Linked DNA regions of Homo sapiens: all the other regions are linked to region 3. The links are contacts of gene promoters, found by promoter capture Hi-C in human tissues and cell types (Jung and others, 2019). All regions are on one chromosome and are shown on one strand. Each heading gives the region's core, a stretch centred on a gene start or on the middle of the fragment in contact. The rest is flanking DNA. Distances are from core to core; before and after follow the strand shown. Region 1 overlaps LINC02388 (long intergenic non-protein coding RNA 2388). Region 2 has its middle 240 kb from the start of LRIG3-DT. Region 3 holds the start of LRIG3 (leucine rich repeats and immunoglobulin like domains 3). Region 4 overlaps LRIG3-DT (LRIG3 divergent transcript). Region 5 has its middle 230 kb from the start of LRIG3-DT.

What was found. Contacts are between HindIII fragments. The study calls those that stand out against the background at their distance.
Region 1: a contact is called between a fragment that was not itself captured here and the fragment with the promoter of LRIG3 in region 3, in 1 of the 25 tissues and cell types used here (IMR-90 fibroblasts).
Region 2: a contact is called between a fragment that was not itself captured here and the fragment with the promoter of LRIG3 in region 3, in 1 of the 25 tissues and cell types used here (hippocampus).
Region 4: a fragment that was not itself captured here is called in contact with the fragment with the promoter of LRIG3 in region 3 in 3 of the 25 tissues and cell types used here (bladder, heart left ventricle and thymus).
Region 5: a fragment that was not itself captured here is called in contact with the fragment with the promoter of LRIG3 in region 3 in 1 of the 25 tissues and cell types used here (dorsolateral prefrontal cortex).

Annotation. Positions count from the first base shown.
Region 1 is chr12:58,756,494-58,759,193 of GRCh38, reverse strand. All of the region lies in intron 1 of LINC02388 (long intergenic non-protein coding RNA 2388), which reads left to right. All of the region lies in intron 1 of LOC100506869 (a long non-coding RNA gene), which reads right to left. Among named protein-coding and RNA genes, the nearest start is that of LINC02388, 24 kb to the left of the region's middle. The HindIII fragment of the contact is 4,751 bases long and covers 1-2,700 here.
Region 2 is chr12:59,163,391-59,166,090 of GRCh38, reverse strand. No RefSeq gene overlaps it. Among named protein-coding and RNA genes, the nearest start is that of LRIG3-DT, 240 kb to the right of the region's middle. The HindIII fragment of the contact is 5,481 bases long and covers 1-2,700 here.
Region 3 is chr12:58,919,145-58,921,844 of GRCh38, reverse strand. LRIG3 (leucine rich repeats and immunoglobulin like domains 3) reads left to right here and starts at 1,341. Exons shown (of 19, transcript NM_153377.5): 1 at 1,341-1,845. The coding sequence starts at 1,610. It overlaps LRIG3-DT (LRIG3 divergent transcript), which reads right to left and starts at 1,141. Exons shown (of 6, transcript NR_183518.1): 1 at 1,055-1,141; 2 at 373-446. RefSeq lists silencers at 457-566, 1,185-1,294, 1,715-1,794 and an enhancer at 2,175-2,444. The HindIII fragment of the contact is 9,447 bases long and covers 1-2,700 here.
Region 4 is chr12:59,095,932-59,098,631 of GRCh38, reverse strand. The region is part of intron 3 of LRIG3-DT (LRIG3 divergent transcript); the gene reads right to left. Among named protein-coding and RNA genes, the nearest start is that of LRIG3-DT, 180 kb to the right of the region's middle. The HindIII fragment of the contact is 3,776 bases long and covers 1-2,700 here.
Region 5 is chr12:59,145,424-59,148,123 of GRCh38, reverse strand. No RefSeq gene overlaps it. Among named protein-coding and RNA genes, the nearest start is that of LRIG3-DT, 230 kb to the right of the region's middle. The HindIII fragment of the contact is 4,185 bases long and covers 1-2,700 here.

The DNA.
Region 1 (2,700 bases), core at 60-2,559, 160 kb after region 3:
TGTGTGCGTGTGTCTGTCCACAGAATACTAAGCAGCCAGCCATAAAAAAAATAAAATTATATTCTTTGTAGCACCATGGATGGAGCTGAGGGCCACTATCCCAAGTGAAATTATGCAGAAAAAGAATATCAAATATTGCTTGTTCTCTCTTATAAGTGGGAGCTACACAATGGGTACACACGGACATAAAGAAGGGAAAAACAGACACTGGGGCCTAATTGAGGGTGGCAGGTGGGGGGAGGGGGAGGATGGAAAAACTGCCTGTCAGATATTATGCTTATTACCTGGGTGACAAAATAATCTGTACACTAAACATGACATGCAATTTACCCATGACCTGAAATTTACCTATATAGCAAACCTCCACATGTACCCCTGAACTTAAAAATATTTTGAAAAAGTAATAAAACTGTTCAGTTTTATATCAAAATCAACATGTCCAAAACCGTCATGAGACTTAGAAGTGAGTTCCTTCAAGCTTGCTTTGCCTGTAACAGTGCTGCCATTTCCTTAGTTGCTGCCAACAGACACAGCCCTGAAAGCCTCCAGAACTCTCATTACATGTTCATACAGGCAATCTCATGCATGCATTTACTGGGTTGTCCAAATTGACTCCCTTTACTTGAATGTCTTTTTAAATCTATTACTGCCTTCTTACTGAGGATTGAAAGTAAAATCCTCTAGTGTCTAAATTTTAAAGATGGGAAAAAATAAAATATACATGAAGAGCCTGAGAAAATACTTCCTAGTTAGCCTTTTTGTGTCTTTCTATCATGTGTAAATTTGTAACAATAAAAAGTTTTAGTCTAACCTTTGTGTTCTACTCTAGATCTGGCTGTGCCTATCTGCTAGTCTTGCCTCTATGAATGTCCCATAACCTCCTTTTCCATGCCCACTCCCCTCATTCCCTTCACTACCCTACTGTCATCATGAACTGCCTGGCGCTGTGCTTACCTTGCAACTTGACTTTATGTCAACCTGCCTTTGTTGCCTCTACCGTCTTCACTTTGATTCGGGCAACGTTCACTATGATCCCCACCCCAAACCTCAATCATCTTTTAAAATTCAGCATAAGACATCCCTACAAATTGAAGGATTTTGTTTTTGTTTTACTTTGCCAGGGAAAGTCAATTGCTCCCTCTTCTATGCCCTGTATCACCTTCGGTAAACATCTGCTAGAGCTCATGTCATATTTTATCGTAGAGTTTAAATTCATTATATCCACATGCTTTAATAGACTCTCACTCCTTGTGGACTGCAACCATATCTAATTTATCAGTGCATCCTGCCACCCTCATACCTGGCACACAGTAAGCGTTCAATAAATGTTTATTGAATTCATTTTTATTTGAAAGCCATTTCTATCAAAAGTTACAAAAGAAAAATAATCAAGGACATATGAGTAAGGCAAACTAAAGTATATGCTAAAGATAAATTCAAAAACAGACATTGCAGAGAGGTTTATTCTATTAACCACTAAGTGATGTGTCATAGATTTGGTGTTTCCTATACTTGCTGCCTCAGTATCTATTTTTAGGGCTGACCTAAGTTGTTTGAACCCAGTTGTGCCCTGTCGCCTTTGGCTTAGTTAAAATTTCTTCCTTCCTGTGCAGCTGTTTGTGATATAGCCCATTGTTCCTCATCTCAGTGATCCAAAGCCGAAAATATTTCACAGCTCCCGACCACGAGAAAACCTAATGGTCAACTCTAGAGTCATGCCAGTAAGTTCTCCCCGGCCACACGCAGTGGCTCACGTCTGTGATCCCAACACTTTGGGAAGCTGAGGCAGGCGGATCATCTGAGGTCAGGACTTCAAGACCAGCCTGGCCAACATGGTGAAACCCTGACTCTACTAAAAATACAAAAATTAGCGGGGTGAGGTGGCACGTGCTTGTAATCCCAGCTACTCGGGAGGTTGAGGTAGGATAATTGCTTGAACTCGGGAGACGGAGGTTTCAGTGAACTGAGGTCGCGCCACTGCACTCCAGCCTGGGTGACAGAGCGAGATGCTATCTCTAAAATAAATAAATAAATATTTTCCTTAAACTAGCCAATCCGCAATTCCCATGGGAAAGCCTAAGGGATAACACCCTGGACCTTAATAAAGGCATAGTTTCCAGGTCTCTCTCTCTCTCTCAACATGTCTTCCTCTACTCCACAGCTCCAGCTCCCTGCCACCTCCACATCTCCCAGTCAGCCTCTTGTTGGCACACTGAATCACTCTGGGGCCAGTGAGTAATAAATTTGATCTGTTTCATGCATTTTGGTTTTACTTCTTCATTGTGTGTCACCTGAAACACACACTTGAACTTAACTTTCCCCTATCAGGGCTCTCCTAGCAAATGTTTATCTTGGCTTTAGGCCTCTCTAGGCCTCAAGACCAATTAGAAAGAAACCATAACAATAGAAATTATCATAACATAATGTATATGTAATGGTAATTCAGCATTTTAAATAAGCTTTTTCTTAATAGTTCTTTATGGGGTGATAATTTCATATTGTATATATACGATGGTATTGATTTAATGGATACTAGCAAGTTAAAAACTTCATTTTATTTTTATTTTGTAATATTTTATTTATGTAAATATGAAATCCAGTTGTCAACAATAGTAATTTCTCCACGAACAGATTTCAGATGATTTTAATTTTATTTTTACTTTAATATTATATACAGTAAAAATGTATTGTTTGAATACC
Region 2 (2,700 bases), core at 137-2,636, 240 kb before region 3:
ACTGTCCCTCTGAATTTTCTGCAATGATGGAAATGTTCTATAAATCCAGCTGTCCAATACAGTATCCATTAACATATGTGGCTACTGAGCACTTGAAATGTGGCTAGTCAAACAGATAAAATGGGGTTCTTTGGGTGTAGACCCCCATAGACGTAAATATTAGGGCATCTGAAGGCAAAGGGGCTAATTATTTCTTAAGGCTAACTAGTACTCTACAGAATAAATAATAATAGAGACATAAGAAATATAATATAGCAAGTTAGAGAACCAACCATTTAGACTTTAAATGCTAACTTTAGGTTGATAAAAATCATTGGTTCTATTTGAACCACGAGAGCACCTTTCTCCTTTTCAAATTTGACTGCTTTTAATTACTAGAATCTAGGTTATAAAAGTTGTTAGTATTTCTATAACCTGAGTTTTTGTATCACAAAATAGTATTAAATTGTCAAGATCATTATTCTATTTTTATACAGACAACATAAGAGAATACTTAATTATTCCCTATTACTGGAAAAAAGGTAAATTAATTTTTAATGTATTAAAATAAGAACAGGAAGAAGGAATTTTATTTCTAAATAATTAGATGGACATTGTTAAATAATTTTTATTCAGTATTTGCTGATAATAAAATCATTTAAGGAAATATGTTCAATACTTATCTGTAAAAATTGGACATTCTTTTGAATATTTTCTTCTGCAATTATTTTGAATCAACCTTTAATGAGAGAGTATATTTTAATGCTAATATCTTCTTCGTATCACACATCCAGTAGGTGGCAGTCTTTCTTTTGAATTAAGAACCCAATAGAATAAAAGTAAGGATGGACGGATAGATGAGCTAAACAAACCCCATCATTCTAAAATGTACTGTGCATTTTCAGCTAAATGGTGAAATGAATATCTGGTCTTCCAATCCAGTAGATTTTGCAAGACTTGAAGCTGAAGTAATGCCTTGTTGTTGACAATAATATAGGTCACCGGGACACCTGGGAAAAGGGAATAACTAGGTTGTCTGGTCTGACTGGAAATTATTGCAGAGCTCTGTCGTGTTTTCAGTGCCTCAGGCCATAGGACAAATTTGTAGCTGATCTGGGAGTAAGTTCAAGAGTCAAGATGATGCCAAAATATAATTTTTTTCATCAAATCTCTCCTGAAGCTGTAAGAAAATAACAGTGATTTAAGCTTTTCATCTCTTTTCATTATCCATTTTTAATGTCATGGAGACATGACAATACAGCAAAATAAAAATGTATAAAGAGATAAAAAATAGCAAACAGTGAGTGCCACATACTGCCTTTTGAAGAGTTTAAAGCACATTTATGGATATCATCTCACACTGAGAGATGATATTTAATTTTTCAAAGCCTTACTGAGTAACTTTAACAATATTTGAAATATATACAATTGGTTACTTTTTTCTGTCTGAAAGAAATCAACATTCTACTCATTTTTTCTTTCTTACTGTTCCTACTTCAAACTTGGTTGGGTTGTAGTTTATCTTTCAGAAGGGGAGGTGCATAAGTATTTCCACCTTTATAAGGGTTGGTTTTTTGTTCCTAACACCCCAGATTTCATGTTTGTTTCATTTTGTCTATCTCATTTCTAAAACATTCTTTCTGGAGTAAGATAAGATAAAAATCAATAATTCAACCATTGTGGTTAGATGGCCTACCAGCCTTCAATTCCCAACACATTGATCACACAAATCCCTTTCTTCATGTACTTAGTTTTTTTTATTATTATTGTTCACTAGACCATAACACTGAGGTCCCTCTGGTGAGAGATATGTTTTACTCATTGTTATTCTACCCACAAGGTCCAGCATAAGACTTCTATATGGTAGGCATTCATGCAACATTTATTTAATGATTGAGCAAATTAATGAATATTAAATCAAATTTTACTTTCCTTTGGGTTTATGCCATGTAAAGTTTCTAAATTTTTTCCCATAATATGTAGGAACTCATTTCCGTACTTCAACAGCTAACATTCCTAATACTGAATATTTCTGTTAATGTTAACTCCAAATTTTTTCTGATAACAGTAATGCCCTAAGCTCTTAACTTTTTCTATAGACACCCCTTTAACTGATTAAAAAAAAAAAACTTCATGAAGCAAGTAAATACATGTTTCATGTCAATTTTACTACATCTTAAGCCACTCTTTGCTCACAAACTGGTTCCACATGGTTGCCGGGAGAAGAAAAGAGAGCAGATAAGGTAGTCAAGGATTAAATATCCCAATAGCCAAGTACCACAGGGCATGCTACAATGTCAGAGGGGCCCAAATTCTGTGGTAAGTCAGGAGTTCAGATATACATTTCTGGAAATACAAAAAGGAATTTTTAAAGCTACTTCCCAAATGTTCAAATAAAATTAATAAATTATTACTATAAACCCAAGAACCACTTACTCTTCAGACTATATTTCATTTCTCACCAAGTTTTCTCTGTTAAATATGATTACCTTGTCCAGTTTAACCTCAAAAACTACCTTTCTAGATTTTAGTATTAATCATTATTACATTAAAAATCTTTCATTATTGCCATCTCTGTTCGATCTTCACATAGTTAAGTTCATGCCTGTTCAGCCTCTGTAAACAGAAAACTATGGTCTCCTATGAGTATCACTCTAGCTTCCAGTGTACAGAAAGGAATTCATCCTTGTAGTAAAACTTCTAGTTCAGTTTGTTTTAATA
Region 3 (2,700 bases), core at 92-2,591:
GTTAATGGTAGCTGGAAATAAGAAAATGGGATACCATATCTAAAATAGGGTGTGTTAACTTCAAAGTGAGTCTTTTCCTTCCCCCGTAAGTGGGAGTGATTTGCTACAGTGAAAAATCAATGGGCCTTAGAGTCAGGGTTAAAGTCTCAACTCCACAAGCTATCTCCACTCCTCAATCATGAGCAGTTTACGCAACTCCAAGGACAGACAAGCTTGGGCAGACAGCATGCAATAAACAATGTATAGAAGTGAAAACTTACTTTAAGCTTCCAGGGTTTGTTTTTTGGTTTGTTCATGTTTTCTGTCTTGCTTTTATTTTTATTTTTTTTGCAACAAACACATTAGTTACGTTCTCTAGGTCTATTTCCTTACCCAGAGGAGGAAGGCCCCTTAGCACATGATCTCTGCGGTCTCCATTAGTTTCAACATCTTGTGGCGCTGATCACCTGTAAGTTAAGGAACAAACTTCACTGGGAAGTCCTGTAGCCTGAATCCAGCCCCAAACATCCACTCCCCCAGCTGAGGAGGCCGGGAGGTACTTTTACCCTGGTAGCATTCTCAATCAACATGTGTCATTACTCAAAGCGCAAGTGGACCAAGGTGCATATACTAATTTTTTCCTCCAAGGTCTTAGTTTTCATTTTACTTTGAAATGTCACTGTGACTACTTTTATTATTACTATTACCAGGAATCTATGATTGCCATCGAGGTCTATTAGAAGGTCATCTCCCATCCCCCACCCCGCCCAGCTTTATCCAGTGCACGAAGGCTGGCTATTTGTAATTCAATATACACTTTCCAAAACCACGAGTTTTACGTTTTATTATTGTTTTTACTTTTGAAGCCGATGTATGGGGGAACACCCACCAGCATTAACGTTGAAAGAGCTGTTTTCATTGAAACCACTCTTTCATCTGTGGATGGTAGGATAATTTATCAGTGTCTTTAATTTGGAATTGAAAAGTTTCCTGAAAACACTGCTAATTAAACTTTACTTCCCTGAAGTTCTCCTAAATACCTCCAACTCCGAGAACTAGCCCAGTATTTGCTCACTTCCTTTTGCCTTTCAACTCCATTTGATATATGTTTCCCACGACGTAGTGGAGACTTCTGGCTGGAGAGGCTGGAAAATATAACTCTGAATTTCCTACAATCTCAGCTCCACTTTCTCCCGCGCGTAGGCCCCCGGCTGGAGCGGTGTTATTGTCACGTGGCCACGGGGACGCCCGCAGCCGAGTCGGCCAATGGGCGCGCGTCGGCCTCTACCCGCCCGCCTTGCTACTCCGCCGCGCGGGGACTTGGCGCAGTGCCGCGGGGTGGAGGCGAAAAAGTTTCTTTTGCAGACAAGAAGGGGCTTCGGCGAGCCGACGCTGCTCAAGCTGCAACTCTGTTGCAGTTGGCAGTTCTTTTCGGTTTCCCTCCTGCTGTTTGGGGGCATGAAAGGGCTTCGCCGCCGGGAGTAAAAGAAGGAATTGACCGGGCAGCGCGAGGGAGGAGCGCGCACGCGACCGCGAGGGCGGGCGTGCACCCTCGGCTGGAAGTTTGTGCCGGGCCCCGAGCGCGCGCCGGCTGGGAGCTTCGGGTAGAGACCTAGGCCGCTGGACCGCGATGAGCGCGCCGAGCCTCCGTGCGCGCGCCGCGGGGTTGGGGCTGCTGCTGTGCGCGGTGCTGGGGCGCGCTGGCCGGTCAGACAGCGGCGGTCGCGGGGAACTCGGGCAGCCCTCTGGGGTAGCCGCCGAGCGCCCATGCCCCACTACCTGCCGCTGCCTCGGGGACCTGCTGGACTGCAGTCGTAAGCGGCTAGCGCGTCTTCCCGAGCCACTCCCGTCCTGGGTCGCTCGGCTGTAAGTATTCTTCCCGCGGGGGGAGGGGGCCCGGGCCGCTGGAGATTCGAGAAAACAGGAGCCGGCGGGGAATGGGGTTCGGCGTGCAGTCCCCTTTTTGCCGTATAGCTCCTTCTGGCCCAGGCCGCGATCGGCGCTCCGTGGGCGTGGAAAAAGAACTGTCCGGGCCTCAGTTTCCCTCCCACGTGCTTTGCGGGCGGCGCAGGTGGGCTCTTGGCGCGTCCTAACTGGCTGCAGGTAGACCAGGGTTGGGGGCCAGTAACGACGCCAGAGATTGGGGATGAAGTCCTGCGCCCTAAGCTAGCCAAGGGGTTCAAATGCTTGCTCCTGCCAGGCCCAGGGGAGATAAGCGGCAACCTGCACACATCAGGAGTTTGCAGTTCTCGCTGAGTTATGAGTCTGGTTCAGTTTTAGTTTCTAGCTGCGTCAGACTCCTTTTCCTGTTCCCACCCAGTAACTGAAGTCAGGCTTTTCATTTGGGAAGCCCCCTCAACAGAATTCGGTCATTCTCCAAGTTATGGTGGACGTACTTCTGTTGTTCTCCCTCTGCTTGCTTTTTCACATTAGCAGACCGTAAGTTCCCACTCCTCAACCAGATTGTAAAGACTGGTCGGTAGCTATGGAAAGGGCGGAACTCGATTATCCAGAATCAAGGGCGTGATTTCTGTAGCTCCTCAGAACGCCCAGACGGTTTAGGGGAGAGCGCAGGGAGCTCTTATGCAAGTTTTTGGATTTTTAGCTGCGAAGTCTGAAAACCTGAAATCACTGCCAACTGCGTGAAGAACAAGGAAGAAAATGTAATTTAGTTGGAAATGCTGATCTTTTCCAAATGTCATCTCTTTTCTTCCTCAGTCC
Region 4 (2,700 bases), core at 74-2,573, 180 kb before region 3:
TTAAATCTGAATTGTAAAATAAAATATAAAACAGTACACAAAAATTAATATTCAAATAGTGATTCACTACAAATTGACAATTCTTAGTACATCCTTTTTGCACAGTAACATTTTCACCCTACATGAAAATGGTATCAATGTTCTCAAAGTTACAAAACATGGCAGATGTTTTATTCATTTATCCACTTCTTCATCATAAATTTATCGTGCAACTGAGAACACATTATAAGAGGCAATGTTTGGGTGGTTGTGTTTCTGTCAAGAATAACTGGCTCCAGGGCCATGGTTTGAAGTGTGGCTGTCTTGGGGACCCCTTCCCCCACACCATACTGATGGCCTTCCCTGGCTGTAAACACCTTTTCACTGCCAATTCATCAGCCAGGGCAATTTTGAGACTTCTGTTCCCCAACCATTCTGCTTCTCTTCAAAAAGCATTTCAGACCTCTGACCTAGGGCACTGTATTCTAGACAATGGCCACTCAGCTCTTTCTATGGGGATGCCAGTCTTAACCAAAGAAAGACATGAATGACATTTTAGTCACTAAAAAGAATAGGATGTGGAGTCAAGATTGAGGAGTCAGAGCCAGTTCTACCAGTTTCAACAATTCTCTCCTTGTCTCTAAGAACTACTTCCCGAATATTCAAAATGAGTATTAATATCTACCTTACACTTATTGAAAAAAGCAAGTAAAATTAATAAAAATACATTTTTGAAACTGTATGGTGGTATATAATTTATTGTCCTATCTTTTCTCCCTCTCAAGTAGTCTCAATAATCATATGCTCTTTTCTTTCCCTTCCTTCTTTCTTTCCTTCCTTACTTCCTTTTCTTCCTTTTTTCCTTCATCCTCCTTCTCTCCCTTTCTCCTTTTCTTCTTCCCTCCTCTCTCTTCTTTTTCCCTCCGTCTCTTTCTCCCTTCCTCCTTTTATCCTTTTCTCCAAGACATTTTTTGATTTTCTACTATGTATCCAGCCACTTTGTTCCTAAGTAGAGTATAAAGATGGATAAAACTGGTGAAAAGCATGAACTCTAGAATCAGACTGCCTGAGTTCAAATCTTAGCCCTGTCATTCACTGGCACGTGCCCCAGAGTAGTTAGTTAACCCCAATGTGATTCTATTTCTTCTTTAGTAAAATAGAGATAGAAGTATTTTTCCATGCAACAGGCTTAGCACAGTGCCTAATACATTGTCAGTCTTCAAAAACAAAGAATGCACAGAGATGTTGAGCAGGGAAATAAACATACAAGTAACAAACTCTATTTAGAAATATTGTGAAAGTTTTCACAAAAGAGAAGCCCTTGGGATGGGTTTTGAGAGATAAAGAAGAGTAGCAATAGACTAAAAGTAGCAATATTTGTTCTTAAATTAATAAATTGAGTAAGTGGGGAGACATTTCACTCATTCATTCATAGAGATGTTTATTATGTGGGGACCAGACTGGGCACTGAGGATATAAAAATGAATATGTTATTTAGGAAGTATTAATAATGTTTAGGAGTGGTAATGATATAGTGGTAATGCTATAAAAGAGGTGTATGTATATTTATCTTTTGGCTATATATACTAAAAGATGATATAAAAGTGTCTGGGATTTGCGTCAGCATAACCCAGGGTGTGAGGAGATCAAGTGCGTATGAGAGTGTATAGAAGAAACAAGATTGGACAAGAGTTGATAAGCTGCTGCTCCAAATTCATCCTCTATGCTTTTATACATGTTTGAAATTTTCCTCAGTCACAACTTTTATAAAATGAACAGGAACAGGCTCCCTTTACCGTCAACTGTGGCACATATGCCTTGCAATGTGATGTTCACATAAGGCTATTTTAAAACAAATAGTGGCTGGGAACCCCAAGGTTAACGAAGGATGTTGAGGTTTTCAGTGACTCTCTATATGGATGTTTTTCTTATTCATCACATTAGTTGCTCCCTTGATAGGGACCTTGGAATACTTCCTTTTTTAGTGTGAAGTAAATGAGAGAAGCAGGTGGAGATCTTGTAACATAATAGTAGGCAGTTTCCTCATTCTGGTAATTATATGGCACTTCCATTGAAGCTTCTGGAATACTAACATTCTTTCAAGAGATACATAATCTATCACTTTTCTGTAGAGGGATTCAAAATTGGAGACACAAAAGTGAATTAGTCATTATGTTGCCTCTCCATAATGAAATAGCTGATGTGCTATTACCTCACATTGCTGTCTCACAGCCTTTATGATTTTACCTGCCTCCTGAATGTCTGTGTTTAATACCTTTCTCCAGATGTCTTAATTTGCATTTAATTCCTGCTTGAATCTAGTTTTATCTTTTGCTCAGATTTCTAAGGTCTTTAGGCCCATTCATTAGTTTCTCTATTTCTATAGTTGCTTGCCAAGCCACCAAATTTAATATCATTAAAATTTTCATTGTTGTGCTACAGTCTTTTTTTCCAGATCATTAAATAGAAGCAAATATGTGGGAGAAAGTGTAGGAGGGAGCTGCAAATAGCATTGTATTAATTAACTAAAAAAAAGAAATGTTTTAATTTTAAAAGACATAAATTTCTGTCTAGATGATGATATAATGATTCATCTGAGATTATTCATATATTGCTTCTTATATCCACCTCTTTCTAAAAGAAATGTAAGTTAGGGCATGTTTACCAAAAGTTTCACTAAAATAGATTAAAAGGTAGAATCGAGGCTATAAAATAAATAGC
Region 5 (2,700 bases), core at 74-2,573, 230 kb before region 3:
CACTCACTATCACAAAAACAGCATGAGGGTCACCACCCCTGTGATTAAATTACCTCCCACTGGGTTCCTCCCATGACATGTGGGGATTATGGAAACTAAAATTCAAGATGAGATGTGAGAGGGGACACAACCAAAGCATATCATAACTTGAATATGTAATGACTAATCACCTCGGGAACAACTTCATTACATATAGTCTGACTCCAGAGAAAGTTGAAGAATTTCTCTCCTGTGAATTATGATGGCATCAGTACAATTGAAATCCTGCTTTAGGAAAAAGCCAGAAAGAAACAAACTTAGCCCAGTAGTAATATATGAAAAAAACTGAAATGAATTCTTTTTTTTTTTTTTTTGGAAGTAATAATCTTTTTTTTTTTTTGATACTTTAAGTTTTAGGGTACAGGTGCACAATGTGCAGGTTAGTTACGTAAGTATACATGTGCCATGCTGGTGTGCTGCACCCACTAACTCGTCATCTAGCATTAGGTATATCTCCCAATGCTATCCCTCCCCCTCCCCCCACCCCACAACAGTCCCCAGAGTGTGATGTTCTTCTTCCTGTGTCCATGTATTCTCATTGTTCAATTCCCACATATGAGTGAGAATATGCGGTGTTTGGTTTTTTGTTCTTGCGATAGTTTACTGAGAATGATGATTTCCAATTTCATCCATGTCCCTACAAAGAACATGAACTCATCAGTTTTTATGGCTGCATAGTATTCCATGGTGTATATGTGACACATTTTCTTAATCCAGTCTATCATTATTGGACATTTGGGTTGGTTCCAAGTCTTTGCTATTGTGAATAGTGCCGCAATAAACATATGTGTGCATGTGTCTTTATAGCAGCATGATTTATAGTCCTTTGGGTATATACCCAGTAATGGGATGGCTGGGTCAAATGGTAATTCTAGTTCTAGATCCCTGAGGAATCGCCACACTGACTTCCACAATGGTTGAACTAGTTTACAGTCCCACCAACAGTGTAAAAGTGTTCCTATTTCTCCACATTCTCTCCAGCACCTGTTGTTTCCTGACTTTTTAATGATTGCCATTCTAACTGGTGTGAGATGATATCTCATTGCGGTTTTGATTTGCATTTCTCTGATGGCCAGTGATGGTGAGCATTTTTTCATGTGTTTTTTGGCTGCATAAATGCCTTCTTTTGAGAAGTGTCTGTTCATGTCCTTCACCCACTTTTTGATGGGGTTGTTTGTTTTTTTTCTTGTATATTTGTTTGAGTTCATTGTAGATTCTGGATATTAGCCCTTTGTCAGATGAGCAGGTTGCAAAAATTTTCTCCCATTTTGTGGGTTGCCTGTTCACTCTGATGGTAGTTTCTTTTGTTGTGCAGAAGCTCTTTAGTTTAATTAGATCCCATTTGTCAATTTTGGCTTTTGTTGCCATTGCTTTTGGTGTTTTAGACATGAAGTCCTTGCCCATGCCTATGTCCTGAATGGTAATGCCTAGGTTTTCTTCTAGGGTTTTTATGGTTTTAAGTCTAACGTTTAGGTCTTTAATCCATCTTGAATTGATTTTTGTATAAGGTGTAAGGAAGGGATCCAGTTTCAGCTTTTTACATATGGCTAGCCAGTTTTCCCAGCAGCATTTATTAAATAGGGAATCATTTCCCCATTGCTTGTTTTTCTCAGGTTTGTCAAAGATCAGATAGTTGTAGATATGTGGCGTTATTTCTGATGGCTCTGTTCTGTTCCATTGATCTATATCTCTGTTTTGGTACCAGGACCATGCTGTTTTGGTTACTGTAGCCTTGTAGTATAGTTTGAAGTCAGGTAGCATGATGCCTCCAGCTTTGTTCTTTTGGCTTAGGATTGACTTGGTGATGCGGGCTCTTTTTTGGTTCCATATGAACTTTAAAGTATTTTTTTCCAATTCTGTGAAGAAAGTCATTGGTAGCTTGATGGGGATGGCATTGAATCTATAAATTACCTTGGTCAGTATGGCCATTTTCACGATATTGATTCTTCCTACCCATGAGCATGGAATGTTCTTCCATTTGTTTGTATCCTCTTTTATTTCATTGAGCAGTGGTTTGTAGTTCTCCTTGAAGAGGTCCTTCACGTCCCTTTAAGGTGGATTCCTAGGTATTTTATTCTCAATGAATTCTTTAAATGACTGGTAAATCACTTTCTATGTGAAAGCTTATCTTTTTCAATCTCCTTCCACGTGAAAGGACTCACAAGTTTAACTTTAACTTAGATATAGCAAAGAAAATGTTCTTGTAAGTCACCTAACTACCCAATTAAGTCCAGTGACAGAAGATGTAAAATGACTTCATTTTTGGTGAATACATTATGTTTTTGGTACACAACTTGCTCACAAGGACATGCCAATCTATGTGTTATGTCACTTATCTGGAAGCAGTATAGATTCTTGTGGGATTGTAAACATAGCAAATGACAGAGGAGATGAGATACCTCATCACAAATGAATGAATAATAACTTAGAATCTGAGGTGATATTGAAGGACAATCAGAGGCAATCATATTCTCTGCTAATCTGCTGTTTTGGTCACCACATTATATTTTTAAATCAGACTACATAATTTTCCCTCAAGAAAATAAGAATTTATTATTTTAGTAATTTCATGTGACATAGTACGTCCTGTTTCTGTGGAAGAACAAAGTAATTCAGAGATCAAATATTACATAAATGAGGTTTTTGCAGTTATCACATTTT